3 separate regions of the Homo sapiens genome follow, and regions 2 and 3 are each linked to region 1. The links are contacts of gene promoters, found by promoter capture Hi-C in blood cells and fetal thymus (Javierre and others, 2016). All regions are on one chromosome and are shown on one strand. The core of a region is centred on a gene start or on the middle of the fragment in contact, and the rest is flanking DNA. Distances in the headings are between cores, read along the strand shown.

Region 1 (2,700 bases), core at 114-2,613:
GATACCCAATCTTCCTGCAATGCAAGGACCTCAGACTTCTACACTTTTATTATTCAGATCTCAATCAGTGGAATCCTGTGGATCAAGGGGGAATTTCCAGCACACTAGAGGCAGCTTTTCTCCATTCATGGGATGTTCTCTCAGGCTTCAGGAGGGTTTCTTTCCCTCCTCATTCAGCCCACTACTATGATTTTCACTTTTTTTCTCATGGGAGACTTTTCTTCTCTAGCAACCCAGTCTTGCAAAAACGATGCCGAATGTCTGGTAAATTTGTTCTGAGATACCTTTAAAGATCTGGGCTGGGGAAAACAGCATTCACTTTGCAAGCTTCTTGGGATTTTTACTTAACTAGAGTCTCTTCTTCCCAGGATTTAAAACATGATGGAAACTTTAGCTCATGAATCAAAACAACCCTCCAGAGCTAAAAGCCAGCTGTATTTGCATAACAATTTAGCAGATCCAAACAGCAGGGCAAGGTCGGGTGAAATAAGTTGCCAAGGTCATGGTCATGAAGTAGTATTAGACTCAGAAAGGCTGATCCCCAGTGCTTGCTCCACCCCATGGATCTCTCCTACCCTCCTTCTAAACGATACTGTGGGATAAAATAAAATTAATCTACTGTATATGTGCAAACCACAGGCCTGCCCTTAACTCTTTCCTTACCTTCTAGTTTCAGATTATTCAAATCATGGAGGAAAAGATTAGATCACAACACGTTGACTTCACTGTATTACCATACAAATGAAATAACTTAGTACAAACTGTGATCTGGGGACTCTTGATCTAAACTGGGAACTGCTGTTGACTGCATTTTAAACTCTAAAAGTATTTTGAAACTCTTTAATTTCTTGAACTGAAAAAATTGCTTTGAATTCACTTTGTTTTAATTCTGAGAACCTAAAAACAGGGATTCTTTAAAAAAAAAATGCAAAGGCTCACATGCCAGAAAGAAAGAAGCTGAGGAGATAAAAATGTGTAAATAATTCTTACTTTAATACCCTTAGCTAGAAAAACCTTAAAAGCGACACATCCAGAAGCTCGTTAAGTCACAGCCTCTTTGAACCTATTTCAGTGAACCACCGAATTTCAGATCCCTCAGGTGCGACTCTGAATTCAGAATTCTCACCGGCTCATAGTCCTATTTTCCTTCTTAGGTTTTAGGGAATTTTGCAAACTATGACGCCCAGCCTTTGAGGGGAGAGGACTTTCCAGGGGCGCGGGATGTGCCACTCGGGAATCTCACCAACAGTGGGCGTTTAGCGCAGCCAAGCGACAGGCAGGCGCCAGGGCTCAGCAACAGGGAGGCGCCGGCTGAGGCGGGGAGAACTTTGGCGCTCGGAGCAGAGCCACCCTTTGCTGGCCAGTCGCGTTGCTCCTCCGAGGAAGCAAGCGGCGGTGGCGACTCGGTGGAAAAATAACGAAAGAAAGGCAGAGAGGAAGTAGCGAGAGAAGAGAGAAAATGAAGTCGGCGCTGGGGGAGCCTGCAGGAGGGTGGCCAACAGTGGAGGAAGGTGGATTTGGCTTCTTTTCCGCACCCCGGGCGTGAAAGCCCTCTCCAACGCGACCCCAGGAAATAAGTGGGTCTCGCCTGGGCAGAAAAGGAAAAGAATCCAGGCGAGAGCGCGTCGCTCCTCTGTCACTGCTGCCCCCGAGGAACTCCGGCTGCTTCTCATCCCGGCCGCCTCGCGGGGCCGGACGCAGTGCCCGAGGCGCCCTGCAGATGGGGCGGGCAGGGAACGGGCGCTCCAGCTGCGGGTGACAGGCGCCGGCCCGCCCGCCTGCCTGCTCAGCGCAGTGACCGGGCGGGCAGAGGATGCCAGGCGGAGGGACCTGGGAGCGGGATCTGAGACTGCCGGAGGCGCGCTACGCTCCAACTTGCATGGCCTAGAGACCGCTCCAGCTCCTGGGACCGCTTCACCGAGTGGAGTGAAGCTGCGCGCGGGACCTGGAGGCGGAGACCTCAGGCAGCGGCTGCAGAGGGGCGAGCCGGGCGCAGGAGGGGGCGCGCTTTCTCCCTGCGGGTCTCAGTAATGAGGAGACTGAGTTTGTGGTGGCTGCTGAGCAGGGTCTGTCTGCTGTTGCCGCCGCCCTGCGCACTGGTGCTGGCCGGGGTGCCCAGCTCCTCCTCGCACCCGCAGCCCTGCCAGATCCTCAAGCGCATCGGGCACGCGGTGAGGGTGGGCGCGGTGCACTTGCAGCCCTGGACCACCGCCCCCCGCGCGGCCAGCCGCGCTCCGGACGACAGCCGAGCAGGAGCCCAGAGGGATGAGCCGGAGCCAGGGACTAGGCGGTCCCCGGCGCCCTCGCCGGGCGCACGCTGGTTGGGGAGCACCCTGCATGGCCGGGGGCCGCCGGGCTCCCGTAAGCCCGGGGAGGGCGCCAGGGCGGAGGCCCTGTGGCCACGGGACGCCCTCCTATTTGCCGTGGACAACCTGAACCGCGTGGAAGGGCTGCTACCCTACAACCTGTCTTTGGAAGTAGTGATGGCCATCGAGGCAGGCCTGGGCGATCTGCCACTTTTGCCCTTCTCCTCCCCTAGTTCGCCATGGAGCAGTGACCCTTTCTCCTTCCTGCAAAGTGTGTGCCATACCGTGGTGGTGCAAGGGGTGTCGGCGCTGCTCGCCTTCCCCCAGAGCCAGGGCGAAATGATGGAGCTCGACTTGGTCAGCTTAGTCCTGCACATTCCAGTGATCAGCATCG
Region 2 (2,700 bases), core at 56-2,555, 2.7 Mb before region 1:
AGTTAGTTCATATAAAGGTGCTTGATACATAATAAATGTTCAGTGCATGTTATCCATTGTTGTATACGAATAACACAAAGGCTAAGAAGTTACTCAAATATCAGTGATTTTATTTAATTGTGAAGTGAAGCATGTGTAGTACATGTAGTTTTAATTTCTTCTAAATAATTATGCTTTATTAATGAGAACTCTTTCTGATGCAAATTGAAAGAAAACAATCTTATAACTTGCTTAATTAGAAAAAAAAGAATGCATTGTCTTAAACAAACTGCAGTCCTAGAGGAGACTTTGCATTAAGCCTGTCTGAATTAGAAATCAGAAAATGTTATCAATAATAAATCTCTCTCTCTCTTTCTGTCTCTCTCCCTCTCCCTCTTTTCAGTCTCTTGGTTCTGCTTTTTCCTGATTTAGCTTTATTCTCAGGAAAAATAGCCTTGAGCCACTCTGTGCATACAGTTCTTAACTATCACAACTCAGAAAGAAAAAGAGACTTTCCATTTCAGAACTTCTATATAAATTCTCATGATGAATAAATACATTAAAAAAATCGGTCTCTATAGTTAAGTTTTGTTTATGAAAAAAAAGTCAGTCTCTATGGTTAATTGTCCTTTCCAACCTATCCTCTAGAAACATTTTTCCTAATCCCTGGATGAAATCTCAGCATGTTCTGTATCTTTTAGATAGTAACAAATAGTTTTATTTCCCAGTCTGAAAAATCCAAGCTTATATTAAGGCTTCAATGTTTCATTTACTTTAAAGTTTCTTCCACTTCCTAGCTTGGCCCTTCTTCAGACTGAAAATTCTGGAATGGGAAAATGCAGATGATATTGGTTCCCTCACCTATTTTCTCTTTTTCTTCTTGTCCTCCTTTTCCAGCGTTGGAATGAATTCTCTAGTGTTGGAACGGGGAGCAAAGAGAGGTAAGGGACAGGAAAGGTTTGTCTGGAGTACATGAGGTGTCCCCTGGCTAAATACACATTATTTCCTGTTTGGTTCTTGGGTTCTGAGAGGCATCCCAGGACTTTCTCTGGAGAGTTTACTCACCACTTCAGATGGTGCTCTTGATAGGAAATCCTTTAAAACAATCAAGTTCAGTTGTCTTCTACAGGATCTATATCTGGCCTCACATTGTGCCCCCAAACTCTGGAAATCTAGGCCACCTCTAGCACAGCTTTCTTGGCCGGGGTTGGAAATGAGACTGCCCGAGGGCAGCCTGAACTGGCCTTGTGCTCTTATCTGACTTGGTCAGGCCTCCCCACAGCCCTAGTCCAGTGCTGCCTGACATTGGGTAGGTAAACTTTTCCAGTTCAGGAGTTGTCTTTGAAGGTGACTTTGGCTCTTCCGCAAGGTCATTTTTGTACTTAGCTTTATCAGTAGCACTGGTAATATTTTGGCCTTCAATTTTATTGTTTTATTTTTGACATTGTTCAGAATCTAGGCAGGGCAAAGGGGTTCTCTTTTTGGATAAGCTGAAGAATCTCAGTGGTCTAGACTACCACACTAAGAAACATTAGTCTACTGGGGAAAATATAGAATGAAATGGGAGATGGTATAGGACATGACCTCTGCCTTCAAATGTTTAATCTAATTAGGGAGCTAGGCAAATAAATTATCATGAACAATTCAATGTGCTGAAAACAATAAGGGCTGCATTTATTGAGTATTAACTGTGTTTCAGGCTTTACAGATGTTTTCATTTAATCTTCACAGCAACCCTGATTTAGAGGCTATTACCATCTCCATTTTACAGATTGAGGCTAAAAGAGTTCAAACAGCATGTCTCAAATTAAGAAGAGTCAGAGCTTATATTTGAAACCAGATCTGTCTGATCTTAACTTCTTAATTGGCAAGCACCCTGTAAGGCCTCACTTGGACTTTTAGAAGCTTAGGGTCTAACAGAGAGCCTGACATGCAAATCTTCCACATTAAAGTAGCAAAACGAGAAAGACATTACTTCTATCAACTGCTTTGATACAGTAAATATCATATTAGAATAAGGCCTTTCTTCATATGCTGATGTCATTACCTGGCAATGGCAGAACATCCTAGGTATAAATCCTTGCCTCCAGCACCTAACCAGTTCAGATACTCTCCACTTCACTTATGTATACTGACCACCTGTGTGTCTTGACCAAACCCAGTGCATTTTTAGAATATTCTCAAATGTATGCAAACTCTACTCAGAATCAGAAAATCCCCCAATTTCTGAGCTTTCAAATATTTTATTTTTATGGTACTTTATTAATATAAAGAAATGTGACACTTTAAATTTCATGAAATAATAAGTAACATTAGTTTTCTATTTTTATTTTTCAGATGATTTTATACACATCTGTTTATCTGATACCTTTAACAATGTCATGGCGTATACTATTATAATTATCAACATTATAGATATTATGTTAAGGAACCTAAGACTCAAAGTTCTAAACAGGTAGTTTATAACTAAGTTACACAAAGACTGCAGCTGGGTGGATTCTCTTCTGATTGTAAATTCTATACTCTTTCTATTCTACCTCAGTGACTCAGATACTGCCAGCAATCGTTCTAGCTTTTCCTTGATGAGTTCCTATAGAATGATAAATATCTTCACAAAGTTCCCAACATCACTGCAAGAGCTGATTATTGGCTGGCTAGAAACAAAACATATATCAGACACTGTGGGAAAGCACAAGTGCATTTTTAGAGGCATTGTTTTTA
Region 3 (2,700 bases), core at 42-2,541, 2.9 Mb before region 1:
GGTAAACAACACTGAAACACATTGTTTTTTTAATTGACAGAGTCTCACTGTGTCACCCAGGCTGGAATGCAGTAGGCAATATTGGCTTACTGCAACCTCCGCCTCCTGGTTTCAAGCAATTCTTATGCCTCAGCCTCCCTAGTAGCTGGGACTACAGGTGCACGCCACCACACCCAGCTAATTTTTTTGTGTGGGCTTTTTGTTTGTTTGTTTGAGACTGAGTTTCGCTCTGTCACCAGGCTGGAGTGCAGTAGTGTGATCTCGGCTCACTGCAACCTCTGACTCCCAGGTTCAAGTGATTTTTCTGCCTCAGCCTCCCAAGTAGCTGGGACTACAGGCACCCACCACCACGCCTGGCTAATTTTTTTATTTTTAGTAGAGACAGGGTTTCACCATGTTGGCCAGGATGGTCTCGATCTCCTGACCTTCTGATCCACCTGCCTTGGCCTCCCAAAGTGCTGGGACCACAGGTGTGAGCCACCACACCTGGCCTTTTGTGTGTTTTTAGTAGAGATGGGGTTTCACCATGTTGGCCAGGCTGGGCTCAAACTCCTGACATCAAGTGATCTGCCTGTGTTGGCCTCCCAAAGTGCTGGGATTACAGTTGTGAGCCACCACACCTGGCCTGAAACACTGTTGAAGAGAATGCTGTCTCAACTGGGCTTATTGCTAGTTGTGTGTATTCCCTGTAACATCATACAAGACACAACCTTCAAAAGAAAAATGCCTGTTTAAAAAAGTTGAATACACAAATTGCACTGATCCAAATTATCAACGTGTTAATTGTGGAGATTACAAAGACCAGTAACTCTACTTCTAATGACCTTTCAATAAAGCAGGATATACAAACAACACACAAATAGAAAATAAATCTTCATATTATAAATATTATGAAAGATTGCTAAACAAATCCAATTTAGTTAAAATGATAAGTAGGAGCTTCAAGGCAGAGGAGGCTTTTGAGGAGGGTCTTGGATTGTGATAGATTAGAGAGATTTTGATTTTAGATAGAGAGAATGGCATGAACAAAGATGCAGAGGCAGCAATGATTGGCAAGGCTTATTCTAGTAATGGTAACTAAGCTTGCTTAGCTTCAATGTGTGAAAAGCAATCATGCCTTCATTCATTCAACAAAGAACTATAATGAACATCTATTTCCTGAGGACTCCACTTTACGTCTTTAAATTTTATGTTCCTGGTGAACTACAGAGTTGGGATTTTTATCCATCTCTTCCTGATTTCTAAAATGTGTGCTTTCAACTACATCCCTCTGAATAAATAGTATACAATATATAATACAAATTATAAAAGAGGCACAAAGAAGCATATAGAAACACTGAAGTGGGAGAAGTGATTTTTTCCTGGAGGGTTTAGTAAAGGCTTCACAGAAGAGGTGACATTTGAGTTTAGCGACAGTGCGACAGAAAAAATAACCCTTGATTTGGGAATATTAATGTTCAACTCTTCTCAAAATCCATCTATCAAAAGAGCAGAAGCTTCCAGTTATTGATCTTTATAATCTTCAAAATAATTAAAAATGTGAGATACAATCAATATATATCCTAGCTCACTGACATAAGCCTCAATACTTAAAGTCTGTTTTTTCCCTTGTTTTAAAACTTACCATCCCCTGAACTGCTGGTCCAAGGAAGAGAAATTTTATTTTACCTGATAAAAGATATTTACATCAAAAGAATATTATCATATGAAATGAAAGCAAGAGAGAGGGAGGAAAAAAAAAAAAAGCAAAGCTGGAAAATGGAGAGATGCTCCAAAACAGCTGGGGGATATGATGCCAGTGGATAAAAGAAAAAGTAATTCTTATCAGTGTTACTGTGGTAGGAAATATTTGGATTCCTTCCATGGTTTTTAAGAAAGTTAAGTAGAGGTTGAAAATTATTTTGATTGCTTGACTGTTTCCTTTTTGAGAATGAGCCATGGAAATTTCAGCTTTGTAAGCATGTAATAATAACACTAGTAATACTGTTAATCATGAAAGACATCTATTAAAGTCTTAGGAAATGCATTGGGTTCTGTATTTAGTGGGTTCTCTATCTAGTTATTTGTTGAAAATGCTCAATTTATAAGTGCTATAGCATGTTGAATGCTTTAATGGAACACATCTCAGATCGTGGAAAACAGAGAAAGCACCCCCAAAGCTCCTCAGAGTTAATAGATATTACTATTTTAATACTGCATATTGATTTTATTTGTTTCAAATATCATGTATTATGTATACCTTTAACCAATATTATATTGCTTGAAGTTGCACCTTCTTCATTCTCCATGCTAAATATTCCATTATTCTACTTGTGATAAACATTTATATTTTTCTAGTGTTTGTATAAGGTATGAATAGTGCTTTTATTAACATACTTATATGCATCTTTGGTGTAAATTTGTATATAATCACTCTATTGAATATATAGTTTAGAAAGAATTCTGAGTTATAGGGTATGCAAATACTTAGCTTCATACACATCTCCAGTTCTATAAAGTATTGGTACCAATTTAAGCTCCCACCAGCAGTATGTAAGAACTTAAGTTGCTTTACATCTTTGGAAACACTTGGTATTATCTCTGTTTTTCATTTTAGCTGTTGTGGTGGGAGTGGTAGCATATTATTTTATTTTTTTATTTCCCTGAAGTTAAGCATTTTTCATACATTTATTGCATATTCAAATATCCTTATTTGATGAA

Evidence for each region. Contacts are between HindIII fragments. The CHiCAGO score rates a contact against its expected background, and 5 or more counts as called.
Region 2: a contact is called between a fragment that was not itself captured here and the fragment with the promoter of GRIN3A in region 1, in 1 of 17 cell types (endothelial precursors). The highest score is 7.1, in endothelial precursors.
Region 3: a contact is called between a fragment that was not itself captured here and the fragment with the promoter of GRIN3A in region 1, in 4 of 17 cell types (naive CD8 T cells, M2 macrophages, activated CD4 T cells and 1 more). The highest score is 7.2, in naive CD8 T cells.

What each region holds. Positions count from the first base shown.
Region 1 is chr9:101,737,310-101,740,009 of GRCh38, reverse strand. It overlaps GRIN3A (glutamate ionotropic receptor NMDA type subunit 3A), which reads left to right and starts at 1,363. Exons shown (of 9, transcript NM_133445.3): 1 at 1,363-2,700. The coding sequence starts at 2,031. RefSeq lists enhancers at 1,006-1,529, 1,530-2,054. The HindIII fragment of the contact is 5,247 bases long and covers 330-2,700 here.
Region 2 is chr9:104,390,961-104,393,660 of GRCh38, reverse strand. No RefSeq gene overlaps it. Among named protein-coding and RNA genes, the nearest start is that of OR13F1, 110 kb to the left of the region's middle. The HindIII fragment of the contact is 1,162 bases long and covers 725-1,886 here.
Region 3 is chr9:104,670,951-104,673,650 of GRCh38, reverse strand. All of the region lies in intron 2 of LOC107987105 (a long non-coding RNA gene), which reads left to right. Among named protein-coding and RNA genes, the nearest start is that of OR13D1, 22 kb to the left of the region's middle. The HindIII fragment of the contact is 414 bases long and covers 1,085-1,498 here.